7 separate regions of the Homo sapiens genome follow, and regions 1, 2, 3, 4, 6 and 7 are each linked to region 5. Evidence: promoter capture Hi-C in 16 types of primary human blood cells and fetal thymus (Javierre and others, 2016). All regions are on one chromosome and are shown on one strand. The core of a region is centred on a gene start or on the middle of the fragment in contact, and the rest is flanking DNA. Distances in the headings are between cores, read along the strand shown. Region 1 overlaps GALNT2 (polypeptide N-acetylgalactosaminyltransferase 2). Region 2 holds the start of RHOU (ras homolog family member U). Region 3 has its middle 71 kb from the start of RHOU. Region 4 overlaps GALNT2 (polypeptide N-acetylgalactosaminyltransferase 2). Region 5 holds the start of ABCB10 (ATP binding cassette subfamily B member 10). Region 6 overlaps PGBD5 (piggyBac transposable element derived 5). Region 7 has its middle 140 kb from the start of PGBD5.

The links. Contacts are between HindIII fragments. The CHiCAGO score rates a contact against its expected background, and 5 or more counts as called.
Region 1: a fragment that was not itself captured here is called in contact with the fragment with the promoter of ABCB10 in region 5 in 4 of 17 cell types (M2 macrophages, megakaryocytes, endothelial precursors and 1 more); the score reaches 7.4 in M2 macrophages.
Region 2: the fragment with the promoter of RHOU here is called in contact with the fragment with the promoter of ABCB10 in region 5 in 13 of 17 cell types (fetal thymus, total CD4 T cells, neutrophils and 10 more); the score reaches 18.5 in fetal thymus.
Region 3: a contact is called between a fragment that was not itself captured here and the fragment with the promoter of ABCB10 in region 5, in 4 of 17 cell types (fetal thymus, naive CD8 T cells, non-activated CD4 T cells and 1 more). The highest score is 9.1, in fetal thymus.
Region 4: a contact is called between a fragment that was not itself captured here and the fragment with the promoter of ABCB10 in region 5, in 1 of 17 cell types (endothelial precursors). The highest score is 5.5, in endothelial precursors.
Region 6: a fragment that was not itself captured here is called in contact with the fragment with the promoter of ABCB10 in region 5 in 3 of 17 cell types (naive B cells, endothelial precursors and fetal thymus); the score reaches 5.9 in naive B cells.
Region 7: a contact is called between a fragment that was not itself captured here and the fragment with the promoter of ABCB10 in region 5, in 5 of 17 cell types (fetal thymus, endothelial precursors, megakaryocytes and 2 more). The highest score is 7.3, in fetal thymus.

What each region holds. Positions count from the first base shown.
Region 1 is chr1:230,236,493-230,240,312 of GRCh38, forward strand. GALNT2 (polypeptide N-acetylgalactosaminyltransferase 2) reads left to right here. Exons shown (of 16, transcript NM_004481.5): 6 at 168-233. Among named protein-coding and RNA genes, the nearest start is that of GALNT2, 170 kb to the left of the region's middle. The HindIII fragment of the contact is 3,191 bases long and covers 404-3,594 here.
Region 2 is chr1:228,733,938-228,738,167 of GRCh38, forward strand. It overlaps RHOU (ras homolog family member U), which reads left to right and starts at 1,542. Exons shown (of 3, transcript NM_021205.6): 1 at 1,542-2,067; 2 at 3,736-3,794. The coding sequence starts at 1,806. The HindIII fragment of the contact is 4,915 bases long and covers 356-4,230 here.
Region 3 is chr1:228,662,308-228,666,060 of GRCh38, forward strand. It overlaps a transcript of RHOU not described here. Among named protein-coding and RNA genes, the nearest start is that of RHOU, 71 kb to the right of the region's middle. The HindIII fragment of the contact is 596 bases long and covers 2,054-2,649 here.
Region 4 is chr1:230,219,899-230,223,850 of GRCh38, forward strand. All of the region lies in intron 3 of GALNT2 (polypeptide N-acetylgalactosaminyltransferase 2), which reads left to right. Among named protein-coding and RNA genes, the nearest start is that of GALNT2, 150 kb to the left of the region's middle. The HindIII fragment of the contact is 2,818 bases long and covers 1,149-3,952 here.
Region 5 is chr1:229,557,114-229,561,299 of GRCh38, forward strand. It overlaps ABCB10 (ATP binding cassette subfamily B member 10), which reads right to left and starts at 1,594. Exons shown (of 13, transcript NM_012089.3): 1 at 1,023-1,594. The coding sequence starts at 1,539. RefSeq lists silencers at 804-1,253, 1,314-2,013 and an enhancer at 2,184-2,373. The HindIII fragment of the contact is 4,467 bases long and covers 1-4,186 here.
Region 6 is chr1:230,319,043-230,322,847 of GRCh38, forward strand. It overlaps PGBD5 (piggyBac transposable element derived 5), which reads right to left. Exons shown (of 7, transcript NM_001258311.2): 7 at 1-3,805. Among named protein-coding and RNA genes, the nearest start is that of PGBD5, 110 kb to the right of the region's middle. The HindIII fragment of the contact is 2,111 bases long and covers 1,361-3,471 here.
Region 7 is chr1:230,284,920-230,288,664 of GRCh38, forward strand. No RefSeq gene overlaps it. Among named protein-coding and RNA genes, the nearest start is that of PGBD5, 140 kb to the right of the region's middle. RefSeq lists enhancers at 1,530-2,029, 3,214-3,713. The HindIII fragment of the contact is 4,168 bases long and covers 86-3,745 here.

The DNA.
Region 1 (3,820 bases), core at 749-3,248, 680 kb after region 5:
CTAATGAGGCGTGAACAAGCCAGAAATCAGATCCACAGAAAGAAGAGGTGCCTCTGTGATGCCCCAAGGAGATAATCGGCCCTTAGATGATTGAGAATACTATGGTTGAATGCAAAGCCCTTTATGAACTCCAGGTTCAAAATGCTCTGCTTCTTTTCTTTTCCTAGCTGAGGACGGGGCTCTCTTGGGGAAAATTGAGAAAGTGCGAGTTCTTAGAAATGATCGACGAGAAGGTAAGATTCTTCTTAATTCAGCGCCAAGACAGTTGAATTCTGACTTTTCCTGTAATAACATAAAGAAGTGCTTTAGCTCAAAGAGCAATTAATTGTCTAGCTTTTTTCTGTCTCCCTCTACCAGAGCCGCTTGGGAGACTTCTCCCAGCAAACACAGGAAAGACATTAAAAGCTTGACTAATTGAAATTATTAGTATATTAGAGCAGGATCAAATTACATTTTCATTTATGTATTTAGAAAATTGGCTTCTTTCTTTCACAACCTAGGAAGTCTTATCAGTCCCTTGAATACAAAAGTTTAGAAGAAAAACAAAGATTTAGCAATAAGAAGTTGAATGACTCCATGCTCCAGGCATCTGATAAAATAACCGGGATTCAAGTTTGACAGCCTGCTGAAGGTGAACCATCCAAAATGGGGAGACAGTACTGCAATTATATGCTCATGCGATTTTGCAAATGCCAACCTCGGAACCTTCTGTCAGTCTTATCTGTGCTGGAGCTGAGCTCATGAGGACTCTTTTATTGGCAGTTAGAAGAGAGGCTGTAAAGGAGGAAAGTAGTACACTGGAGTGTCTGGGAAGGAAGCTCCAATCACAATGTAATTAACATCCAGTGTGTCAGTGCTGTTAGAGACCCTGAAGACTGAATTGTTAGGCTCCTCCATGGTTGGGAGAAATCTTTCAGTATAGGAAAATCACAGAGCTTTGGAACCCATGCCACATTTGCTATTTAAGTCTGACTGTTGATCCAGGGGTGGTGATTGTATTCCTTCATCAGTGTAAAACTCTTTCTTCTCATTACATATGCACTCCAGCTGGAGTCAAGGAGTGAAGTTTTTCTTACCAGGAATCTTATTGGCCAACACAGTGATTGAGCCTGTTAGAACAGCATCATATTTTAACCAACTAGGGTCATCAACCTAGACATTCAAGATACATAAACAGTGGGATAAGCCTTGCCTTCTAAACAAGCTGTTTGCCAGACTCACATCAGTCCACCAAGCCTGGAATAAACCAAAAAGGGGGCAATTTGCTGCCCCCTAAACACCTTCAAAATAACTTTATGAATTTAAACCCAAAGTATCTGCCATCCTACCCCATCACCTGGCACAGGCTTTAAAAAAAAAAAAAAAGAGAAGTGGGGAAGGAGGAAAGAGAGATAGTGTTGGCACTGTAAATCACTTATGAGCCTTATCTAACAGTGTCTTTGTCTTTAAACTGCTTAGAAATCAGAACAATGCTTCTCAGTATTAACTTTCCGCTAGAATGTTCATTTCGGTTGAACCCGTGCTGATACGTTGTTTCGGGGAAGGCATGAGAAGGGTGGGTTGGGAGAAGCCAGATTATGGAAAGCCTATATGGAACAGCTGAAGTCTGTAACAATTGAATGAGAAAATATGTGCACACTTGCACACACACTCATGTATATATGTACCCATGTGTGTGTATAAGATCCCATCTATGTAAGCATACACACAAAGTGCTTGTAGTGATGCTACTAGATGACAAAGTAAATTAATTGCCTAAAATATTATGGTAGTGAAAGCAGTCTTAGGATCATTCTTCTGTGGATTTTATTGTGCATTGATTCTTAACCTAGCAATTTATTAGAAGCACCTAGGGAATTTAGGACCATGTCTTGCCCTCATTCACAATTAAATAGAAATTTCTGGATTTCTCTGGGTGGGGTGTGGGCAGCTGCATTTTTAAAAGCTGCTAAAATGATGCCGATGTACAGTGGAAGTTGAGAGCCTAGTACTTTCATTTTACAGATGGAAATACTAAATCTAAAGAGGCTAGGTGGCTTTCTCAAGGCCCTTACAGCTATTTAATGACAATAGTAGGACCAAAACCATGTTAATAATGAGATAAATCTTTTTCTCTGCATTTGTGGAGATAGTCAAGTGGTATTTCTTTTTTTAATCTGTTAATATGGTGAAATACATTGGTTGATTTTCAGATGTTAAACCAGCTTTGCATTCCTAGCATAAGCCCCAGTTGGTCATGATACAGTATCCTTTTAATATATTTTTGTTAAGGATTTTTATACCTGTGTTCATGGGAAACATTGGTCTGTAATTTTCTTAAAATGTATTTTTCCAGTTTTGGCATTATGGTTTACTAGCCTTATAAAACAAGATGGAAAGTGTGCCCTTCTATTTTATTTTCTAAAAGAGTTTGTATAATATTTTAATTATTTCTTTTTTAAATGTTTAATAGAATTAGCCAGTCTGGACCAAGAATTTTCTTTATGGAAAGATTTTTGATAACTAATTCAATCTCTTTAATGGATATAGGCGTATTCAGATCTGCTGTTTCTTTTTGTGTCTGTTTCAAGAAATTTTGTATTTTATCAACGTTTTTATATTTATTGGCTCAAAGTTGCTTATGATATTGTCTCTTTTTTTACTGTTTGTCGGATTAGTATTACTATTTTATTGATTTTGGTAATTTATATCTTCTTATTTTCTTTATCTGTCTGCTGTTCATCGACGCTGTTCATTTTTTAAAAGAACCAATATTTGGCTTTTGTATTAGGATTCTCCAAAAGGACAGAACTAATAGGATAGATGTATATATAAACAGGAGTTTATTAAGGAATATTGACTCACACAATCACAAGGTGAAGCCCCACAATAGGCCATCTGCAGCCGAGGAGCAGGGAAGCCAGTCCAAGTCCCAAAACCTCAAAAGTGGGGAAGCTGACAGTTCAGCCTTCAGTCAGTGGTTGAATGTCCAATAGTCCCAAAGCTGAAGAACTTGGAGTCCAATGTTCAAGGGCAGGAAGCATCCAGCGTGGAAGAAAGATGTAGGCCGGGGGAGACCAAGCCAGTCCAGTCTCTCTACATCCTTCTGTCTGCTTTTATTCTGGCCGTGCTGGCAGCTGATTAGATTGTGCCCACCCAGATTGAGGGTAGTTCATTTACATGTGGCGTAATCATTGGTGTGACTAGGTTTGGGTCTGCTCTTCGGCTGTTTCTTCTCTATTTGTACCATGTGCATTTTGCTTTTTGTAACTGTGTTCCTGCTTTCTTGCCTTCTTTTGGATTCAGTGATTTTTTTAGTATTCCATTTGAATTATTCTTGTAGCTTTTCAGCAATACTTTTCATGTATGCACAGTTGCCCTGAGAATTACAACATACAGCTCTAACTTACAACAGTCTGCTTAAGAGTCAACATCATACCACTTTAAATTTAAGAATTTTACAATAGTTAAATTGCATTTCCATTTCCCTTCCTATGTACTATCGTTATCATGCTTTTCTTCTACATACATCTTAAACCCCACAATACACTGTTACATTTTTACTTCAAATAGTCAGTATCTATTAAATAAAGAGAAGAATATGTGGATATGTTAAGCTTATCCTCATATTTTCCATTTGTAGTATCTTTGTTTCTTTCCATAGATTGGAGTTTTTATTTAGCCCGAATAATTTTCTTTAGAATTTTTTCTCATAGGCAGCACAATCTCAGGTTTTATCTGAAGAATTTTTTTCTCCTTTGTTATTGGAGGCTATTTTCTTTCAGTGGAATCTGAGTTGACAATTAATTTTTCTTTCAGCACTTTAAAGGTTTCACTCCAG
Region 2 (4,230 bases), core at 292-2,791, 820 kb before region 5:
CTAAATTTGTTGTTTTTTGATATTGCCTCTGAATGCTCAATTTGTCATAAATTTTGCATCCTTGACATCCCCCTTATCTCACCTTCATCCTGATTCTGTATCCCATTACACCCAAACAACCTGTTTGGGTCTCCCCAACTTCACTTTCTTTGGCTGATCCCCAAAATCTTCATGGCCTCTTCAAAGTCACTCAATATGAGGGTAAGTTACAGTTTAAAAAGACAGTGAACATAACTGGTGGTGATTAAAATACTTTTTTTTTTTTCAAAATTTACAGAAACATATTACCACGTGTACACATTGCTAGGTCTTCCAATGTGAAAGTGTCCTTTGCAAGTCAGGGGTCCTGGATTCAAGCTTCTAACTTCTTGATAAATCCATCTCTGCATTCTGACCATGGCCATACGTTCAAGATTACGTTTATCATACTGACTTATTTTTGCCTCCAGGATTTTGGTTAGAAGCTCAGGCTCTGGGGCTAGACTATTTGGGTTTGGATCCTGGCATTGCCACTTACTAGCTTGTGGAATCCCAAAACGTTACTTAATATCTCTGTGCCTCAGGTGTTCTCATCTGTAAGTAATGTTAAGATTAAAAGAATTAGTTCTTGAAGAGTGCTTACAACAGTATCTGACACATTATGAAAGTTCAGTATTTGTTATTGTTATTTTTACTACCACTAGTATCAATGTGTATTAATAATATGTGGCCCTTCTCACACCACGCTGTACACCCCCAGGACTCTTGGTATTCTGACTTGGCTAAGAGGCGTCCTTTTTCTGAATAGACTGTTGACCACATGTAGAAGGAAGGCAGAGAGAGAAATGAATCAAAGGGAAACGGAATATTTTTTCAGACATATTAATGTCTCCGAATTACCTTTAAGTAAATGAAGGAATTGGGGGTATAAAAAAATTTCTGGAGCATACATGTATAAAGGTTCACGGCATGCCGAAAGACAAAGTCAAAGGAGCATTCACAATGGAGCTGGCATCCTTTTGCTTCAAAATGAGAAAAAATCACACGATCAGCTGCAGTTAGACTTAAGGAAAAAAGCTGTCTGTTAATTCAATCTCATTCGCAGGACAGGCCTCCAGGACACTTCATTTTTCCCCCTGGGTGGAGCCGTGGCCAGCCGGGGGCTCCACGGAGTGAATAGGAGGCGGCTCAGGCTTCCTGGCTCGCGTGGGCGCCAGAAAGCGGAACCTCCCGGGCCAGTCGCGCGGTGGTCACCCTCTTGGGAGCTGGGGAGGAGGCTGCGGAGGCTGGCCCGGCTCCTTCGGGCGTCGCTTCCCGGACCGGGTGCGCGGGGTCCCCCGGAACGTGTGTTCCAGGTCCTCCCGCGCCAGTGTTCGCAGTCCCCGCCTGGTCGCGGCGGCGCCTCGGGCGCGGGTGCAGGCGCGCGGCGCGCAGGCGGGGGGCGCTGTGGTCTTGGCGCGGGGACCGAGCCGCTCGGCCAGACCCGCCTCTTTTCCCTCCCCGCCAGCCCGCCCGCCTGCCCGCCCCCCACGCGTCGTGTCGCCGGGAAGCCGGGCGGAGACAGAGCGCTTGGGATCCACGGCGCTCGGACCGCTGTCCTCCAACAGCGCAGGGCAGAGCGGCTGGCGCCGCCGGAGCGCGGAGCCACGACCCTCCCTGGCCGCCTTTGTCTACTGGCCGTGCGGCCCGGAACCGCCACTCTCCAGGGCCGGGGACGCGCCCGCAGCTGTCGGTGACAGCTCCTCCCTACCGCAACCCTCCGGGGCGGAGGGGCGGTCGGGCCGGGCCCTGCTAGCCCGCGACCGCAAGCCCGCGCTCGCGGATCGATGCCCCCGCAGCAGGGGGACCCCGCGTTCCCCGACCGCTGCGAGGCGCCTCCGGTGCCGCCGCGTCGGGAGCGCGGTGGACGCGGGGGACGCGGGCCTGGGGAGCCGGGGGGCCGGGGGCGTGCGGGGGGTGCCGAGGGGCGCGGCGTCAAGTGCGTGCTGGTCGGCGACGGCGCGGTGGGCAAGACGAGCCTGGTGGTGAGCTACACCACCAACGGCTACCCCACCGAGTACATCCCTACTGCCTTCGACAACTTCTCCGGTGAGCTGGCCGGGGGGCCGGGGCCGGGGGCGCGTGGCCGCGGTCCACCCAGGGGAAGGAAGGTGGCGCGAGGGTCGCGAGGTTCCCAAGGGGGCTGCAGGGCCCCGGGCGCGGCTCCAGCTGGGAAGCCGGACAAATGAGGAGTGCAGGACGTTTCCTGAGTCTCAGGGACCGGGCAAGCGCGGAGCTAACACGAAAGGACCACGGCGGAGTGGGCTTGGAGAGAGGAGGGCGGAGCGGCAGTCAGAGCCTTGCCAAAAAAAAAAAAAAAAAAAATCTCACAATTTAAGCAACAGATAAGTAGGAGTGAAACAGGTTGAGTTCAGGGTGCCCGGTCAGTTTGTTGCATAGAGCAAAGTTTCCTGAGGGCGACGTCGCTGGCGCCGCTGCAGAGTTTCAATCAGAAGGTGACGCGCAGGTGCCTTTACCTGAGCGTCGCTCCTTTGCTTTTAGGCGGCTCAGCTCACAAGGGGCGTCTCCGCTTTAAAGAGCCGCGGAGACGCCGGGAAAACACTTGATTTAGTGAAAAAGCGCGAGCGGCCCTCGTGAAGGCTTAGGTTTGGATGAAACCTGAAGAGTAAACACCATTTCTTTCTTCTGAGCCCCACCACCTTCCCTGCCCACATGGGCTCGGATTCTGATTGTTGGTATCTTTTCAGGATCCCTTTAAGCTACTTAAAGCTCCTATGTACCGGGTGCGATGCCATTTCCCTTGGTAGATACAAAGAGAAAGGAATTCTCTATCTTGCTATTCAGGTCTTTTTGAAATTTAAGAAAAAGTTAAAATTCACAGAAACTAGTATGAAACACTTAACTGTCTTGCTTCTTTAAAAAAAAATTGCTTCTCTGACCTTCCTTTCATCCCAAAGGTACCTTAGAGAAATGGGTGCTGTACTGGTGGGTTCCCACCGCAGGGTATTGTTTCTTCCCCTCCCCCCACCCCACCCCTGCAGCTGACTAGTATAAATATTTAGAAACAATTAGAAAGTTGTGTAGAAAGAGACAAAACTGACTGCTTAATTAAAATAGAAACCTCCACAACATGTCCTGCTGCAGGCCTCTCCACACTCCCCGAGTCCCCGGATCCCAGTGGAAAGGGGGCCATGGCTTTCTTTTTTCTTTTTTAATCCTCCTTTTGACCTGACATAGAGATAAGGAGTGCCCTCATTTCTTAAACAGGACAATGCGGGCAGCCTGTGTTTGCACATGTTCTCAAAACACACTAGAATTGTATGATAAACCCTGAAGTTGGGGAACCTTTCCCAAGGGAAAACAGAATTATTTGTGAGGTTTTCCACTGATTTAAAACTGCAGGGTTGCTTCCCATTTACCCCCAGTGTTGTTTTTAGGTCCTTTGAAACAAGTGTGACAGGAAAATAAATCTTCCAGGACTGGGAGAAAAGCATAGGCCTTTTTAGGGTCACCATCAAAGCGTTCAGGGATTTGCTGCCTGGTTCACGGTAATGGAGTGACTTGCCAGCCGTGGGTTTGTATACAAAAATGCCTCCACAGGGCCTCCTTGTTTTTGGCTAGTCTTTAATTCATTAGAGGACCTAAAATAGGAGCAAAGGGGTTTGGAGTGAGAATGATAGTGAAAGCTAAAACTATTAGTATTCCGAAAGGGGTTAAAAGACACCTCCTGATTGTCATTTTGGTTTTGTTTTTAAGCGGTGGTGTCTGTGGATGGGCGGCCCGTGAGACTCCAACTCTGTGACACTGCCGGACAGGTCAGTATCACGTTACAGCTCAGTGCTGGGAAAGGAAACAGCCTTTTAAAGATTTCCAAATAACCTTTGATTCCCTCAGTCAGTAACTGGGTCATTCTAAAGCCTCATGAAGTGGACCCACCCCTGCTGTTGGCCCTTCTCTGAGGGTGGGCAGGGGCCAGGTTATTGGCCGGCAGGAAGCAGAGGAAGATACCTCCAAACTAATAAAGCAGGGTTTGGCCCAGCTCTGCGTAACCAGGCAAGGGAGGAAGCAGTGTCAAGAACAGCTCTTGTAGGAGTTTCTATTACTTACTCCCTGGTTTTTATGAAAAAATTTCAGTGATGCTTTGTCATCATTTCCCAAACTAAGTTAGTGATGTCTTATAATCGTTTTATTAAAGGCCAGTGAGTCAGATATTGAAGAAATTTGCTCAAGAAAAAGATGGAATTTACATCA
Region 3 (3,753 bases), core at 1,102-3,601, 890 kb before region 5:
GACCCAGCGATCCCATTACTGGGTATATACCCAAAGGATTATAAATCATGCTACTATTAAGACAAATGCACGCGAGTGTTTATTTGCAGCACTATTCACAATAGCAAAGACTTGGAACCAACCCAAATGTCCATCAATGATAGACTGGGTTAAGAAAATGTGGCACATATACACCATGGAATACTATGCTGCCACAAAAAAGGATGAGTTCATGTCTTTTGCAGGGACATGGATGAAGCTGTAAACCATCATTCTGAGCAAACTATCACGAGGACAGAAAACCAAACACTGCATGTTCTCACTCATAGGTGGGAACTGAACAATGAGAACAGTTGGACACAGGGCAGGGAACACCACACACTGGGTCCTGTTGTAGGGTGGGGGGCTGGGGGAGGGATAGCATTAGGAGAAATACCTAATGTAAATGACGAGCTAATGGATGCAGCAAACCAACATGGCACATGTATACCTATATAACCAATCTGCATGTTCTGCACATTAAAAAAACTATATCCCTAGTCAAGAGAGAACAAGACAAAATGCTGCATCAAGGGGAATGGCAGAGATAAGTGACACCCTCAAGGGTCTAAAGAATGCAGCAATAGTGTCCCCATGATATTTCTGTTTAAATCACCATTCTGTCCCCTCGGGATCTGGCTGCTCTTGGTGGATGACTCTAGACCAGAGGTCCACAACTACAGATTCTGTGCCCAAATTGTCAGCTGCCTGTTTTTGTATATGGTTTTAACTTTTGTGAACAATTGAGAAAAATAAAAAGAATGATATTTTGTAGTATTTGAAAATTATGTGAAATTCAAATTTCAACAGTTATGAATAAAGTTTTATGACAGCGCAGTTGCACTCATTCATTTATGTATCTTACGGCTGCTTTTGTGATTCAAAGATCAGAGTTGAATAGTCTGGACAGAGACCTTGTGTGGTGTTCTCATTATTTCCCCTTGCTTTAGACACATCACAAACCACAGTGAGGCAACTAGCACACTACAGTGTTTCAAGTGCTATACTTTTTGCCATGCTATGACTTTTCATTTATTTATTTTATCACACTGTAACTGTAACAAGAGAATACAATGTGTGTGCAAATTACCAGACTAGGCACTTATCACAATATTCTCAACTCATAGGAAAGCAATAATAAGGAAAATCGGAAAAGTTAAGCATATTCTTACTATTGAGTTTAAGAAGAAAAAAGAAAAGTTAAAAAAAATTAAGCAGCAATATCTCAACACATAGCTGACATTATTTTTCTTTATTTTTATTTTTCTTTTCTGTTTTTCTTTTCTTTTCTTTTCTTTTCTTTTTTTTTTTTTTTTTTTTTTTTTGAGACGGAATTTCACTCTGTCCCCCAGGCTGGGGTGCAGTGGCATGATCTCAACTCACTGCAACCTCCGCCTCCCGAGATCAAGCGATTCTCCTGCCTCAGCCTCCCACGTAGCTGGGATTACGCGCGCGCGACACCATACCTGGCTAATTTTTGTATTTTTAGTAGAGACGGGGCTTCACCATGTTGGCCAGGCTGGTCCCGAACTCCTGACCTCAAGTGATCCACCCGCCTTGGCCTCTCAAAGTGCTGGGATTACAGGCGCGAGCCGCCACGCCCGGCCAACATAGCTGGATTTCTTTTTCTTCTCCCCTCCCCTCCCCTCCCCTTCCCTCCCCTCCCCTCCCCTCCCCTCCTCTCCCCTCTCCTTTTTTTCTCTTCCCTTCTCTTCTTTTCTTATCTTCTGTCGCCCAGGCTGGAGAGCAGTGGCACTATCACGGCTCACTGCAGTCTTGACCTCTCGGGCTCGCGTGATCTCCCACTTCAGCCTACCGAGTAGCTGGGACTACAGATGTGTGCCACCAGGCTCGGCTAATTTTTTGTAGTTTTTGTAGAGGCGAGGTTTCTCCATATTTCCCAGGCTGGTCTCGAACTCCTGGGCATCGGCCCTCCTCGGCCTCCCAAAGTGTTGGGATTACAGGTGTGAGCCGCTGCGCTCGGCCTGGATTTCTTCATAAAGATAAAATTGGAAATAAAATTGCAGCCCAAGTAAGCTTCCAAGTGGCTCATTTGTTCCTCAAATGAGGAAAGCCATTTGCGGATAGCGAATCAACAAATCATGTTTGTACTCATTTTCTCAGAAACGTATTCTGAGAAAATAATCTTTATGAAGAATGTTAACCTTTTTGCTAGGTGGGGTGGGACTTTGGGAAAAAACCCAACAGTTTATTAAAACAAACAAAGCAAGAAACCAAATTGTCCGGCAGAGGGCAGCATTACCCCACAGAGCCAAAACCTTTGCCAGGAGGAACCCGTGTTCATTGCCAAGATTGATTGATTTTGAGACAGAGGTTTGTCCTTGTTGCCCAGGCTGGAGTGCAATGGCGCAATCTCAGCTCATTGCAACCTCCGTCTCCCAGGTTCAAGCAATTCTTCTGCTTCAGCCTCCCGAGTAGCTGGGTTTACAGGCGCCTGCCACCATGACCGGCTAATTTTTTGTATTTTGGTAGAGATGGGGTTTCACCATGTTGGCCATTTTGGTCTCGAAATCCTGACCTCAGGTGATCCACCGACCTCAGGTGATCCATCCGCCTCGGCCTCCCAAAGTGCTGGGATTACAGGTGTGAGCCACCGTGCCCGGCTTGCCAAGCTTTATTAACTAACATTTGTGGTGCCAGGCTGTTATGGTGATTTCTTCCTATTAGCTTATTTAATCTTCATGAAAACCCTTCAAGATAGGTACTATTTTATTTTCATTTTACAAATAAGAAAACTGAAACTCAGAATGGCTAAGTGACTTTTACCTGGTTCACATATCAATTAAGGTCAAGCCTTTGGCTCCAGGACCTATGTTTTTATTGAAGTAAATGATTATAAAGTGCCTGCTATGCACTAGGCATGGTCTAAGCACTTCACATGCTTTAATTACTTTAATCTTTATGATAACCCCAAGATTTAGGTACTATTATTACCATTTCCATTGTACCGATAAAGAAACCAAGATAAAGAGGTGAAGGTGATCCTACCTTCCCAAGGGAACTCCCACTGTCAGGCTTGAGTCCACAGGAGAGGCTCTAGCTGCTCTACGTGGCAGCACTAGGGTGAAGGCAGTGAGGCTCCTACTGCTCTGGTTCTGGCTGGGTCACACATGTCGGGGATGGGTTGCCAGCTCCCTCAATAAACCCCTACCTAGTCTTCTGAGTGACTCAAATCAGGTATCTTTGGTAGAGTGGAGTGGGGAACAGTAATATATCTTTGAGTGGAGTGGGGACAGTAATATATCTTTGAGTAGAGTGGGATGGGGAACACTAATATGAGTCCCAGAGTCCCAGGATTGAGAACCTGCAGTTCTGATGTCAGAGAGCAGAAGTTGGATGTCCTAGCTCCAGAATAAAGAGCAAATTTGTCCTTCCCCTGTCTTTTTGTTCTGTTGAGACCTTCAAGGAATTGGAAGAATAATGCCTATCCACATTGGTGAGGACAGATCATTTTGACTCAGTCTAGTGGTTCAAATAGTAATACCTTCTACCCTGGGAGAAAGCAGTCCCTCCAGGGTCAGCAAGGCCCCAAGATGTCAAAGCATCAAAAATACAGAATAAAAAGGTCATAATTAACACAAGATGGACAAAAGCCTTCTTCACCCCAGCATCTAGAAGTGTTCTTTTTTTTTTGACAGAACCTTGCTCTCACCAAGGCTGGAGTGCAGTGGTGTGATCTCGGCTCACTGCAACCTCTGCCTCCCGGGTTCAAGT
Region 4 (3,952 bases), core at 1,308-3,807, 660 kb after region 5:
AGAGCCTCTGTGCCTGGGCTTTCTTGTTTTGTAGCTGTGCATGATTTCTCCAGGTATTTCGTAAGTTGCTTTGGGACAGAGACTATCTGTAATTAGACAGTTCTCTAATTCCTCACTTAAATTCTTAGGGAATTCAGATTGTTAAAAAAATATCTAGAGAGCTATTAATGACATATACACAATTTGTGAAATAATGTTTTTAATCTTGAGACAGTACCTTGTACTCAAACACACTAATGTTTTTGCAGCAGAACATGAATATGCATACCAAGTGGGATAAATCAGGAGAACAGTCATCAGGTCAGGTTTTACTGCCACATAATTCAGATCATGGCAGGCTTTGCCACCAAATATGATACAGATTTTTTTCCAAGGTGTTTTTGTTTTTTTTTTTAATGTTGGAATCAAAGATTAGGAATTATGGACCCTCGCTAGGTAAATAAAGAAGAATACCATTGATTCTGCTGCCACATGATAAACAGCCCACTCCGGAGGCACCAGAGCCTACTTTTGGGTTGCTATGCTGTAGATGAGGGGAGCAGGGCATAAAGGGAGTTGAAACTCCCGGGATGGTCTTCAGCTTGATATCCTGCAGGGCCTCTGGTGCACAGGTTGCCCTTGAGATTGGTTAGCACCCAGCGTAGCTCCTGGTAGGCTTTGCCACTCCCTCACTGTCACCACGTGCTGGGTGGGCTGAACTAGATCTCTCTCGGTAGCTGCTTTTATGGAATCACTCAGTTAACCCAGTTGACTGTAGAATCCTGTCTGCAAAGAGGCATCCCCTGGAGGCCAGCGCATGGTGGTGCCATCAAACGAAGGTACTTTTGTTAGGGTTGGTCCATTCTTGGGCTTAATCAGACCCGCCCTAAGGAAATCATGGTATGATGTGACGGTGATGCTAATGATCTGCCTTCTATTGTTGGCAAACCTTATCTTGGCCAAATATTAGCTAAAATCTCTGAATTGGTCTGTGTTTCACCTAGATACTAATGGTCTACGCAGTGGGCTGTTAGCAAGCTTGTATCATGAACTCCCCAAGTTCTCCTTTCTTTAAATACACCGAATTACTCAAAACTGGTTTTTTCTTTAAAGAAAAAGCTTTTTAAAAGTAGATACGTGTTTGTTGCACACAGGAAGAAAAGTCTGAAAGCTTCACATTGTCTCTGGTGAACATCCTTCCTAATTTGTCTCATACCCTCTGATGTTCGATGTATGTCATTTTCTATAAATACAATGACAGTAAAATGACACTGTATTTGCTGTTTGCCTGCCTACTTTTTTTTCATTCAGTAATACATAGGAAATATTTTCTAGGACTGTTAAATATATAACTTTCCCTTATAAAAGCTGTATATATCCCATTTTATGTTTATTTAGCTAGCTCTCTGGTAATGGACTGCTAGATTCTTTTCCTTTTTAATGCTAACGTTGGGATGAATATTTTCGAATAACCTCCTTGCTTACTCATTTAAAAGGAGATGCTATTTGAGATGACAGTGTGTTATTTGGTTCTGAAAATGTACCAGAATTTACTCAATATATTGCTGAGTTTGGCTACTGCTTTATTTTAGGTTTTGAATGAAGATTCATAGCTGAAAGTGTCTGTGGCCAGCCAGCCTGCCTGCCTTCTTTTCCTCCTCTCTCCCGTCTTCCTTCCTTCATCTAGCTTTGGCTTCAAGATTATGTTAACTTTGTAAAATGAATTTAGAACAAATTCCTAAATTTCTTTAGATGCTTCAGAAAAACTGATTTGTAAAGGAGTTATTTGTTTCTTGGAGCTCACCTTTCAAAGTCATCTAAACTTAGAGCTATTTTTATTTTCATTACAGTAATCCTTTGATAACCTTTTAAAATTCTTCCATGAATATTGACATGTGTTCAGTTTTTCTATGCTTTACTTGAATTAATTTGATTTATATCTTCCCAGAAGAATAAATTTCCCTTGGATTTTCAAATTTATTGGCATAGTGTTATATGTATATGCACTTAAATCTTTATTAATTATAAACTTTTCATTTTTTTCTTCTTTAAAAATGCCAGTGATGTGTCTCTGGTTTCTCCTCCTTACTTCTGTCTTCTTTTCATCCTTGACATCAAGTGCTGGGATTTTATATACATTTCACTGCTTTTCTCTTTTTTTTTTTTTGAGACAGAGTCTTGCTCTGTCACCCAGGCTGGAGTGCAGTGGTGCGATCTCAGCTCACTGCAAGCTCTGCCTGCCGGGTTCACGCCATTCTCCTGTCTCAGCCTCCTGAGTAGCTGGGACTACAGGCGTCCACCACCACGCCCGGCTAATTTTTTGTATTTTTAGTAGAGACGGGGTTTCACCATGTTAGCCAGAATGGTCTCGATCTCCTGACCTCGTGATCCGCCCGCCTCGGCCTCCCTGCTTTTCTCTTTAATGCATTCATGTCTGCCTGTTGCCTCTGCTTTCCTCTGCACTCCCCCTGCCCCATGAGAGTTGAATGTTGAATGTTTACTTTATGTCTACTTAATTGGTTTCTGAGTGCAGCTTTGGCTGAGTCTCATAATACGAAATATAGTGTGATAATTTTGGTTATTTTTAAACCTACTTGTAAATGACCGCTATTATTATTTCTCACCACTCTGGAATTCTGTTTTTGGTTTCTTTTTTGGTACGTTGCTTATTTAGGAAAGAGTTTCAAAATCGTAAGAAACTGATTTTTTTTTCTTTTTATCTTTTTAAACTTAGGTCATTGGAGATTTTTTTCTCCTGACTTTATTGCTGTGGAGTCAGACATTACAACTTTATAATTTTACTATTTTGCATATATGGAGGGTTTTACTTTGGGCATGAGATGTAGCTACCTTTAATTGAGATTTTCGTTCCAGGTGCTATGCTAAGCAATTTACACACATTACTCATTTAATTCTCACAGCAACCCTATGAGGCATAGGTACTGTTGTTATTGTTACTAAGATTTGATAGTTAGAGAAACAGAACTTGCCCCATTAACCAGGCTGTGGTGAGGTCTAAACAACAGCCTGCCCCCAGAGGCTGCAATCTTTACTTCTCATTTCTATGAATATTTGATGGGTATTTTTTAAAAGCTAGTAACATCTATACTCATTTCCAAATTCAAATATACATGTTCAACCAACCTGATCGATTACATTCAAAACCTTTGTTATTGATAAAAGCATTTGAAACTCAACATTACAGTGCTAGGAGTTTCTGCTTATTTCTAAGCATGAGGGGCTTAGAAGATATATATTCATGGATTATACCCTTATTGACATAAAATTACCCCACTTTATTTGTTTTTCTTTTCTTTTTTTTTTTTTTTAATAGAGATGGGCTCTCACTGTGTTGCCCAGGCTGTCCTTGAACAAGTTTTCCTTTTTTGCCATACATTTTGCTTTGCATAAATGTTAATCTCCTACTTTATTTCACTTACTCTTGATACATTTTTGTATCTTACTGATTTTTTTTCTTTTTTGGATGCCATTTTGTCTTAGGTTTATCTTTTGTAACACATATATTTTGATTTTTAAGCCAACCTGATGGTCTAAAGTTTAATAGACTCTTAGCCATTTTTTTTTTAATTTTATTCATTTACTTTTTTTGAGATGGAGTCTTACTCTGTCACCCAGGCTGGAGTACAGTGGTGTGATCTCGGCTTACTGCAGCCTCCGCCTCCCAGGTTCAAGCGATTCTCTCCTGCCTCAGCCTCCCGAGTAGCTGGGACTACAGGCACCCGCCATCACACCGGGTAAATTTTTGTATTTTTAGTAGAGACAGGGTTTCGCCATATTGGCCAGGCTGGTCTTGAACTCCTGACCTCAGGTGATCCTCCTGCCTCGGCCTCCCAAAGTGCTGGGATTGTAGGCGTGAGCCACTGTGCCTAGCCGAAAAGTTCGTCTTTTTAACCACAGGCCAAAACAGAGCAATTCAGTGTATCTGAAAAGAGTGGTGTCCTAAAATGTCACC
Region 5 (4,186 bases), core at 344-2,843:
CTCTCCTCCACTGTGCAAACCTACTCTAAATCCCAAATCACTACCCAGGAGGGTCCTTTCTAAAGCAATGGATTTGCAGCAAAGAATGCTTTTCTGGTGTTGCACCTGACAACCTCACAGGCCCCACAGGCCCCCTTCCACAGCCCACAGGTGCAGGTTTACCTCTATACATACGAATATTTCATAGATGCTTCTCCCCACTAACCTAGAAGCCCCAGCAGAAGTGAGGACCATGTTTCCTTGTGCATGCCACTGTAAACCCAGGGCCCAGTCCAGAATGAGGGCTCAACAGATGTTTATAGAAGGAGTGAAGATTTAGAGAAATCGAAAAAATTTTAGATCTTACAAGGCCCTTGCATCTAAACACTCCTCCAATTATGGCTAAAAAATGAGGAGCTATAGAAAACTGTCCTATTTAAATTTTGTTTCTAAAAACATTCATTTTGGCTTCTTTTAAAAAAGTTACTCAATTACTGAACAGATCACTGGTGTGGCCTGTTGAACACAGTGCTGTAACTTCCTGCACAAGAGACAAGTCTGAAAGTTTTGCTTTCCGCTGTGAAAGCATTGGTGACTGCTTGACAGACTCGCTTGAAGCAAATAATGTGTTTTTGGTTAAAAAAAAAAAGTATAAACGCCTAATAACAAAATAGGCATATTTTTGGCTAGAATTTTTTTTTCCAAGGAAAAACCTCCAGCTCATTTTGCTGCCTAAGCCAAAACAGATGCTCCCACTAAGTTGGTGGTGGAACAGACCCAAAGATTCCAATAATGACATATATAACGTGTGTCAACAAGAAAACAAGTGTAAAATCTGCAAACGAGTCCCCAGCTAAGGCGAAATCTTGACAACGCTACTCTGAGGTGAGCGATCCCCTCCCTCCTCCGGGGTTAGGAGTGGCCCAGGAGAGGCGGCGGTGACACGCGCTCTGCGGCCCGGCCGTGTCCCTCTCGGCGCCCCGGGACCCCGCGTGTGGAGAAGGAGAGGCCCGGCGGAGGGAAGTGGCCGGGGAGGACCCTACCTGCCAGCCTCCGGCGCTCAGGGTACGCCAGCCCCAGGAGCTTCCGGGCCTCCGGGAGTCCGGCCGCTGCGGGGCGCAGCCGCCCCTTGTCCCCGGGAGGCGCCGCCGGCCCGCGCCGCCAGGCCTCGTCCCCTGCCCAGGCAGCGGCTGCGGGACCGCCCGGGAACCGGGCGCGCGGGAGCCGAGGAGCGCCTGGCCCGGCAAAAGCCCCGCACCTGCAGCTGCCGGGGCCGCGAGCCCACAGCCCCAGGAGCCGCGCGAGGCCCAGGACGCCCCGCGAGGCGCCCGGACCCCCGCCCCGGCAGCCGCTCCTCCAGCGGCGCGCGGCTCCAACGCCCCAGAGCAGCGCGGGCCCCGCGCCCCATAGCCGCGCCGGCCTCAGGCCAGTGAACGGCGATAGGGACCCGGGAACGCGGCTGGCCGCGGCCCACACGCAGGCTACCGGCAGGAGCCGACCTGGCTCGGCAGGGCTCGGTGGCTCGAGCAGCCGCAGCGGCCAGGCAGGGGGGCCTCGCATGGCGCTGCGTGCGACCCGTACGCCTCAGCCCGCCGGCCAGGCGCGCGCAAAGCCCGAGGACCCTCCCGGCCCGGCCCCGAGCAAAGGGCGTGGACGCGGTGGCGCCCGCCCCTCCCCGCTGGCTGTCACCCGCCTTATCGTGCCTGCACCCTCGGGCTGCGCCCGCCCCCGCCCCATCCTCGTCCGCGCGGTGCCGCGCCTCTCCGCCCCACTCCGGGGACTGCAGCTACCCGGACCTTGCAAGCCACCCTTCCGAGCGCCCCCAACCCGCTCGGGTGCCCTCCCTGCAGCGCCCCCAACTGCCCGCTGGCGGAGGAGCGCCGGGCGCGCCAGCTGGGACGAGGCCCGGGAAGCCCAGGAGCACGGCTGCGCCTGCGTACTGGGCGCAGGGAACTTTTTCGCGCTTCGCCGTCCCCTCTGGTCTGAACTTGGGAACGACACGAGCTCTTTCTCACGCCGGCAGACCGGGCGGAGCGCGCAGACGCGACCACACGATGGCCGGCACAAAGATGGGGCGGGAGGACAGCGTGCTGGATACGGCGTGGGGCGGGTCCGCGGCCCGGGAGACCCATGCTGGGGCGGCCCTGTCACTCGTCTCGCTGCCAAGCACAGGGCTGAGGTGCGGAGGGACCACTGAGAGGACTTCGCTGCGTGTCAGCTCAGCTCTGGACGGCGTGGAGGAGGTGGTTGGCGAATAGTGAAATGTATATAACTTTGAGAAGGGAAGAGATCGTTTCTTTTTTTTCTTTTTTTTTTTTTTCTTGAGACGATCTCGGCTCACTGCAACCTCTGCCTCCCAGGTTCAAGTGATTCTCCCTTCTCAGCCTCCCAAGTAGCTGGGATTACAGGCATACGCCACCACACCCGGCTGATTTTGTATTTTTAGTAGAGACGGGGTTTTACCATGTTGGTCAGGCTCTTTTCGAACTCCTGACCTCAGGTGATCCGCCCGCGTCAGCCTCCCAAAGTGCTGGGATTGCAGGCGTGAGCCACCGTGCCCGGCCTGAGATCGTTTCTTAACTAGAGCAGAAATTTGAAGACAGGCGTGGTCGAGGCATTCCCGCTGTTCGAAGTGGAAAACACTAATCAGAAGGCAATGCATCTTAATACACGTGCATGGAAAGACAGGAGAGAACATTAAAACTCACTGGGACACTTTATGGAGACTTCATGGGGGCGGGGGGGGATATGTACCTGAGGTCCAGTGAGTCGTGGGTAGATTTTTGTAGACTCCTAGGTATTTTTACTGGACCTGGACAGGGTACTGTCAGTTGCAAATTTTATGGGTTCACAAAATAAAAAAACCTCAATAATCAACATAAACATTTTAGTGCAATATTTTTAAAAATCAAAATTAATTTAAAAAATCCGTAATGAACAAAATATAAAAAATTTTGATTGAGTATCCACTCCTGACCTTTCACAATCCTGCCTCTCTTCTCTCGCTCTAATCCCAGCCCTGGAAACTTTATTTACAAAAACTGACAGCAGCTGCCCTTAGTTTGGCAGCTGGAAAATGGGAAAGAGAAAGTAAGAGGAAGGTGAGATTTGGGTTAAAGTTGTCACTTTCTCTTCAACTGGGAGGGTATCAATCCTTGATGTTTCTTTAGTTGGGCTCAAAAAGGAGGTAGCGGCCGGGCGCGGTGGCTCACACCTGTAATCCCAACATTTTGGGAGGCTGAGGCGGGCGAATCACGAGGTCAGGAGTTCGAGACCAGCCTGACCGACGTGGTGAAACCCCGTCCCTACTAAAAATACAAAAATTAGCCAGGTGTGGTGGAGCGTGCCTGTAATCCCAGCTACGCAGGAGGCTGAGGCAGGAGAATTGCTTGAACCCGGGAGGCGGAGGTTGCAGTGAGCTGAGATGGTGCCACACCGCACTCCAGCCTGGGAGACAGAGCAAGACTCCGTCTCAAAAAAAAAAAAGAAAAGAAAAAAAAAGAGGAGGTAGCGGCCAGGCGGTGGCTCACACCTGTAATCCCAACATTCTAGGAGGCCGAGGCGGGCGGATCACTCCAGGTCTGGAGTTTGAGACCAGCCTGGCCAACATGGTGAAACTCCATCCCTACTGAAAATACAAAAATTAGCTGGGCTTGGTGGTGCATGCCTGTAGTCTCAGCTACTTGGGACGCTGAGGGAGCATAATCGGTTGAATCCAGGAGGTGGAGGTTGCAGTGAGCTGAGATCACGTCACTGCACTCCATGCACTCTAGCCTGGGCGACACACCAAGACTGCATCTTTTCAAAACAAAATAAAAACAAAAAAAACACAAAGAGGAGGTAGCAAGATGCACAATGAAAACGATCCCATTTCTTTTCAGAAGTCACCTCATAAAAACTGACTTAAAAATTTTCAATTAAAATAAATTTTGCATGATTTGATTACTGAGACTTTTTAGCACATCTTTAAATTTTGTCCCTAGTAGAGTGCCTTAAGTATATGGTCCTGGTAGGTAAGGAGTGAGGTGGGGGAAGGATCGATAATAGAAAGTGTGGGGTTAAGTCGGGCCTTAAATGTGCCTGTGAAATGAGCAGTAAGCATGTAATCCTCTAAAGTCCAACCTCTTAAACCCAGAGGACATGGAGTCTCGCCTCCCTACCCCCGCCCCCCCACTTTCCTGCCCCCAGGGTGACGACAATTCAAGCT
Region 6 (3,805 bases), core at 1,166-3,665, 760 kb after region 5:
CAGGTAAGTCAGGGATAAAATCCCCCGTCCTCGTGATGAATCAGGACAGCCAGTGCCCACAGCAGTTAGGACGCGGCCTCCTGCGTCAGGCAAACCCGGGTCTGCTTACCTGGGCGAACCATTGCACCACTCCATCTGGGCGTGGTGACAGTCCATGCCTAACCCACAGGGATCCCTGTGAGGAGTAAGGCTCTGGGGCAGAAGGGCCACCCCAAGCCGCCTGGAAGTGTGCCTGCCTGTTAGCCACCGCTGTCATACCTTTCAAACACAGCACCTGCGAGGATGCAGGAGACAGATCTGGGAGGTACCACACCCAAGGTCACCTTTCTCCCCCATCAGTGTCGTTGACTTGTTCTCGCCCCAATCCCAGGCAAGTGGGGAAATGTTTTTTTTTTGCCATGAATGCAGACTGGAGGAGAATGTGTGAGGCTTGCGTAGTTGCAAGGCCCCATGGCCCTCCCGGGTTTGCCCTGCTTCCTCTCAGCCTGATGCTTGGTGACCCCCCCTCACTGTTGGGGGGGCTGAGCCTGGGTCCCTGGGGAGGATGGTGACACACGGGCCACACAGGAAGGATTCAGAACCTTCCAGGCTCTGTCCTGGGGACCTGCAATCTTCTTGCTTCTTGCACGCAGCAGAGTTAACTCAATTTTGGTGACCAAGCCTCATCTGATTTAGTCAGTACTGGATGTGTTTGCTCAGAATGACCCAGCCACCAAGACTTTTCCATATGACTTGCCTGACTTTTGAAAGATGTCCCTAGTATAATGTCCCATGGACCACGGGAAGACGTTGTTCAAACTCGAGGCTTTTTTTTTTTTTTTTTTTTTGTGGCGGGGTGGGGGTTGGAGTCTCGCTCTGTCACCCAGGCTGGAGTGCAGTGGTGCGATCTTGGCTCACTGCAGCCTCTGCTTCCCGGATTCAAGATATTCTCCTGCTTAGCCTCCCGAGTAGCTGGGACTACAGGTGTCCACCACCACACCCAGCTAATTTTTGTATTTTTAGTAGAGATGGGGTTTCACCATATTGGCCAGGCTGGTCTCAATCTCCTGGCCTTGTGATCCGCCTGCCTCGGCCTCCCAAAGTGCTGGGATTACAGGTGTGAGCCACCGCACCTGGCCAAAATCGAGGCTCTTTAGGGAGCAGAGTGTGGGGAAAGACAATGAAAGTCGAATATGGAACCTGATCAAGTAGGCACCAAACAGAAACAGACATTCACTCAATGAAGTTAAATTTGCCTAAGAAGGACCTCACGGGACGCTCAACACAACTGCAGTAATGGGAAGGTCTCATAAACTCCGTGAAGCTCAGTGCAGGTTCAATTCCCTGTGAGTTGCAGGGAAATGCAGATTCTCTTTGGAGAAGCTTGGAAGTTTTTGTGGGTGTTTTGTTTTGCATAAGGCTGGGAAGCTCATTGCTCCATCTTTTTTTTCCAGAGCCTGCAGCAGAGACATCCCTCAGGGGATCGGCTTGGCTTAGTGGCTGGATCTGAGTGGAATGGGCTCTCACTTGCCATGTGTGCAGTGGTGCTTGCCAGCCCCATATACTCAGCCAGGGCCATGCTGGCTCCCTCTGTCATAAGACCACTTACGATGCTCTTTCCTCATCCCCAGGGATGGCCAGCTACTCCAAAGCCAATCAAGAATCAACCTGAGGGCTGTTGAACCCAGGGAGATACTGGAACCAGATGCACTTCAACTAGAGTCACTCCAAAAAGCCACTTTGAATCACATCTCTAAGGCAAGGTCCAGGTCCCTGGAGGTTCTGTCAGTCCGTCCTACATGCTATTCTGTCCTTCTGGATGGAGAAGAGAAACTCTTCTCAGTCAACAGCATTCCTCCAGAGACCTGAAGTGGCCACTGAAGCCTCCCCTAGACCCGGCTCAACAGCTGCCTTTTCCCATCATGTATCAGACAACAGGTGGCTGCCATTTTAGAAACAGAGTGTTACAATGTTACAATTATTCTCTCATGACTGGGGAATGCAGCCACCCACTGCCTGTCAGAACAGCACCTCTTCCTGCTCATCTGGAATGACACACGACACAAACTAGAAGAAAAGAGGGAAAACCACCAGGCCGGAAGGCAGGCCTGCTAGTGTCTTCAATGAAACAGGCACCTCAAATACAACTGCACTCATACAACTGCAACATCAAGAGGTATTTCTATTAGCCAAACTCAAAAACATTTCTTTTTTAAACTGCTCAGTGGTTTGAGACACCAAGAACAGTTAATATCATACACACCAGATTATATAACAAAAAAAATCAAGTATTTAAAAGAGTAGCCTGTATTTTTGTTCCTTCACCTTGTTTTTTTTCTTGATACAGGGTCTGGCTCTGTCACCCAGGCTGGAGTGCAGTGGCTCAAGAGATCCTCCCACCTCAGCCTCCCAAGTAGCTGGGACTGCAGGCATGTGCCACCACACCTAATTCTTGTATTTTTTGTAGAAATGGGCTTTCGCCATGTTGCCAATGCTGGTCTCAAACTCCTGGACTCAAGCGATCCGCCCGCTTCAGCCTCCAAAAGTGCTGGGATTACAGGCATGAGCCACCGCACCCCGCCTGTTCCCTGACCTTTTAAACGAATTCACGTATTAACGGAGAATCAACATCTAAATAGACTTTTATTTTTATTTTACTTGTTTGGACAGAAAAGAAAATTCATCAGCTTTCATTAGAGTCTCCTTAAGTGTTGGAAACACATTAAACTCAGAAATAGTGGACCTTGTAGAAAAGCATCACAAATTAAAAATATATTTCTCCATGTGGTAAAAGTGCTTTCAATCCCATTAAAGGGCACAGCAAGGGTGTTTGGAAACACGATCTGAAATTTGGCCTGCAATCCGTGGCATCGATTCCAACCACAGGGCGGGGGAGTCACCATGATCTAGAGCACAGGAGCCACGTGGGGCCCGGAGCATGCGGACAGCAACACTCGCAATAACTGAGTGAGGACGAGGCCCATAGCCTGAGTAGAATAGATTCTGTATTTGTAAAAAATGAGGTGGTTACATCAACTGGGTTGAAGGGGGACTGGGTAATCCCAGAAATTCCTTGTTTCTGGTCTGTGGGGATGGTCAGATCTGCCCACCACTCTGGCACCGAGGCTTCCCTGGAGACGCATAAACCTGGGTTGGGAAAGTGCCCAGATCTGCCTGGGGGACACACGAGCCTCGCTGCCAGTGCCGGGCACGCAGCCTCTCCAGTCCTGCCGTCAGCAACCGCCTCCGGCCCTCATGTCAAATCACACCTGACCAGAGTTGTCACCACAGTCCTGTTTTGGGGTTTTTCCAAGGCCAGCCCTGTTGTTCTGAGGGGCCACTCTGAGCAGGCAAACACTGCCAGGGTCACTCACTACACACAGAGGAAAGACAATGAGCAAATGGCCATCGTAGAGAATTCGGTTGTGTGTTTCAGCAATGCTACTTATTTTTCAAGACAAGTAATTCTGCCAATGATGACATCTGCGACAAAGCTTAGGGCCCGCGGGCTCCCCATGCGCCTCGTGGAGAGCAACCACGTCTGTTCGGAAGCCAGCGGCCCTTCCCGGCCCTGCCACAGGCCAGAACACAGAACTGTGATCATGCAAAGAGCCGTGACTGAGGCCGGGGTCAGCGTCGGGGGTGGAGAGGAGGGGACATCTGCCTTTTACATTAGATCTGAAGCAACAGTAAGAAAATAACCTGAAGATATATTTAAAAATAAAAAATAGCATCATCCTTCACTCCAAGTTTTTGGCATTTCCCTCTCTCCCCTGCCCACCAGCTAAGCAGAGGGAATGAGCAGGAATGCCTCGTTTTTCAGAAT
Region 7 (3,745 bases), core at 920-3,419, 730 kb after region 5:
GGAAACGGTAGGTTATTTGGCTCATGGTTCTGCAGGTCGTACGAGGAGCATGGCTCCAGCGTCTGCTTCTGGGGAGGCCTCAGGAAGCTTCCACTGGTGGTGGAAGGCAGAGGGGAGCAGGCATGGCATGGCGAGGGGGGCGGGAGGAGCCAGGCTCTTTTCAACAATCAGTTCTCACTCACTCCTGTGATAATGGCACCAAGCCATTCAGGAGGAACCCACCCCCACAGTCCAAACACTTCCACCACGCCTCACCTCCAACATTGAGGGTCAGAGTTCAACATGAGACTTGAAGTGGACAAACGTCTAACATTTATCACTGAACAGACCTGGAGCGTGCTGCCTCCTGTGCATCTTTGTTTTTTGACTTAGGGAAGATGCACCTTTGCCAGTGACCACCCCACCCCTTAGTCTCCCCACCCCTTAGTCTCCCCACCTCTTAGACTCCCCACCCCTTAGACTCCCCACCTCTTAGTCTTCCCGGGTCGCACTGCCCAGAGCCGGGTCCTTGGGAAGCCGGGAAGCAGTCACCTCCCACCTCCTCCCATGTCATGGAAGTGGGTTTTGCTGGCAAGGAGGACAGGGAAGGGATGACTACTCATTGAGCAGCCCAGTGCCCACCACACTTGCCATCACTGGAAGAATTCTGGCAGCAGCAGATGGACAGGGGTGGCAGCGTGGTCTCAGGATTCCTTCATCCTAAGAGAGGCAGTCGCAGACCCTGTTGAGCCCCTTCACCCTGTTGATGCCATGGACTCCTTTGGCGTGAGCCATCAACTCAGGGCCTCCTCTCAGAAGGTGTTCAAATGAATAAAACACATTGATTACATGGGATTATAAAGAAGTCTAATTATGCCAAGACACAGTTATCAAAATATTTTCCTAATATGTGCTTCTTAATGCATTAAATAACAAGTCTTCCTGTCTAATTGCTGCCATAATTTAAAGTAGTGATGAGCATAAACAATGTTTTGAAAAAGCTACAATAATTAATGTGATGAAAATATCTGTGATTTTTTAATTAGTGACAAAGTTCCTATTTTGTTGTCGACATTCGTTGTAGAGTGTTCCATTTCAGTTGGAGGTTGTGAAAATAACAATATCATTTTTCCCATCTAAGTTGCTGGACCCCCTAAATTCTAAGCATCTCCATGTCGGTGAGATGCATGGTCCCCACTGTCCTGGAGCCTCCGTGACTTTGTCATCTCCCTGCTGCAGGGTCAAAGGGGTGTTCTCCAGCGCCCAGGCAGCTGCCCAGAGCTCTAATCCTGATTCCAAGAGCAAAAACGGGAACAGACCGCCCTTGAGGACAGGCGCTGCTGGAGCCAAGAGACTCACAGTCGGTCACCTGATTTGCATTTATATTGAGAAATCACAGCTGGAGGGTACCCTGGCAGATGGGTGAGGCTGAGCCACTCAGGCTCTAGGGAAGCCACGCTGTCCTCACAGTGCCCACCCATTGATCTGTGACACGTGGGCCAAGGGGCGTGGGATTTTGCTGGTCAGCTTCTCTCCCTATTGAAGCCGCATGGGAAGGAAGTGGGCAGAAGACTGCTCGGCAAGCAAGGAGCCAGAGTACTGAATGCAAGGACCTTCACAAAGTGCCTCTTGAGGTGGAAAGACGGAGGCGTTTCTGCGCCGCTGCGTGGCCTCAGCCACGAAACTGTCATTCGGAGACTGCTTGGCCTGGACTCCAGCTCAGGATATGCAGAGTGGGTGCTGCCTGATGCCTCATCTGGGCCTGCCAGGTCTGCGGCAGGAGGGCGGGTAGGATGGGAAGGAGCCCATCCTGGGACAGAGCATGTAAATGCATAGCCACCACTGTCGGGTGCCACACAGGAGTGAAGTCCAGGAGTGAAAAGAAACACTTGAGGGAAAGGAAGAGGGGCGAACAGAGGAGGTGGCACTGGGTGCGGCTTCTCAGGCCCTGGAATGGGTGTCCCACCCTTCAAATAACCTCTCATCTCTACACAAAGACGTTACCCCATTTTACCCCTGGGGAAACTGAGGCTCTGATCAGCTAAGTCATTTGCCTAATTTACCCACACAGTGCCAAGTTAAGCACCCAGGCTGTGACTGTCCTCTTCCTGGTCCGGTGGGGACACGGGGACAGGAGGTGATGGGAAGTGAAATGGGCCTTTGGTCGTAGCCAGGGGAGGGGCAGTGACTCCCGTTGCTAACAGGGAAAGCTGGAGTCGCCTCCGCCCGCCGGCTCATGAGGGCTGGAGGGGAGGAGTCAGGAGACTCAGGGGTGGGAGAGATGGGCTCCACCGCTGCATCCTGCCACCCACCACCTGTGTCACCATGGGATGTCACTGAGCCTGCTCTGTGAAATGGGAACCCTTCTGTTCACCCTGGAAAATCATTGTCAAGATCAGAGAGGAAGCACGAAAAGTGCCTCCTGGCCATGCAGTGGCTCCACCTGCAATCCCAGCACTTGAGGAGGCCAAGGCAGGAGGATTGCTTGAGTCCAGGAGTCTGAGACCAGCCTGGGCAACATAGTGAGACTCCCATCTCTACAAAATAATAATAATAATAAGCTGGGCATGGTGATGCACCCCTGTGGTTGGGCTACTCGGGATGGCTTGAGCCCAGGAGTTTGAGGCTGCAGTGAGCCATAATTGCACCACTGTACTCCAGCCTGGAGCAAGACCCTGTCTCAAAAAAAATTTTTTTTAATTTGCGCTCTGATCTAGGCCAGCCCAGAGCTGCAGCCCCGGCCCATGAGCCTCCCCAGCTTTCCCGGCAGGTCTGTGGGCCGTCCAGAAGGAAAGGGACTGGAGCAGGGGAGCCAATGGGATTTCCACATCTGCCAAGTCTTCAGGGAATGTGGGATGGCACGGGGACCCGGGAAATAAGGGTGGAGGTGTCAGCCCTGCATTTTTACAGCCTAGAAGTGACGTCAGAGACCACCAGAGAGGGGGACGGCAGAGAGAGGGAGGACAGGGGCCTGGAAACACAGATCCACACACAGGCTGGAAAGGACCGAGCAAGACACTGCTGGCTGGGCAGAGGCAGCTGGAAGGAAAGGAAGGAAGGTGCGGGACAAACGAGGCTGCCCCACGGCCCGAGCCAGAGCACAGTGAGCTCTGGGAAGAGGTACCTGGATTTTTGGCAACAAGGAAGTTGGTCCGATGCCAGCAGGTGAGGAGCATCCTCCTCATGTGAGGAACACGGGGCTGGAGCAGGGGAGGACAGGGTGTGTGGCCACTGGTTCAGGTGGGGATGTCTGGGACGGACCTGAGAAGCTGAGGCTGATGGGACAGCGAGGGGACAGAGAACTCTCCGGAAACTTCTGGCTCCGGGGCAGAGGGCCGAGCTAAGGGGTGGCATGGGTAGCCACTGTTTCCCTCCCACTCCCCCAGCCCCCTGCACTGGGGATTTTGAGGCTGTCTGCACTTCATATGTTTGAGAGAAACCCACGATTGTAGAGCTGAAGATGTAGAATTTGGCCCGCAGGTAACTGCACACCAACCAGGACCAGCCCTGCTCATGAGCTTCACTGCGGCACCCATTTCATCACACAAGGGGCCAACCAGAGGCCAATTCAGGAGATGTCAATGTCTGTGTGCCTCCACCCCAAAATTCATAGATTGAAATCCTAACCCCCAAGGCAATGATATTAGGAGGTGGGGTCTTAGGGAGGTGGGCAGGTCATGAGGATGGCCCTGATCCAGTCTGACTGCTGTGCTTATAAGAGATGATGACACAGACCCACACAAAGGGGCGGCCACGTGTGGACGCA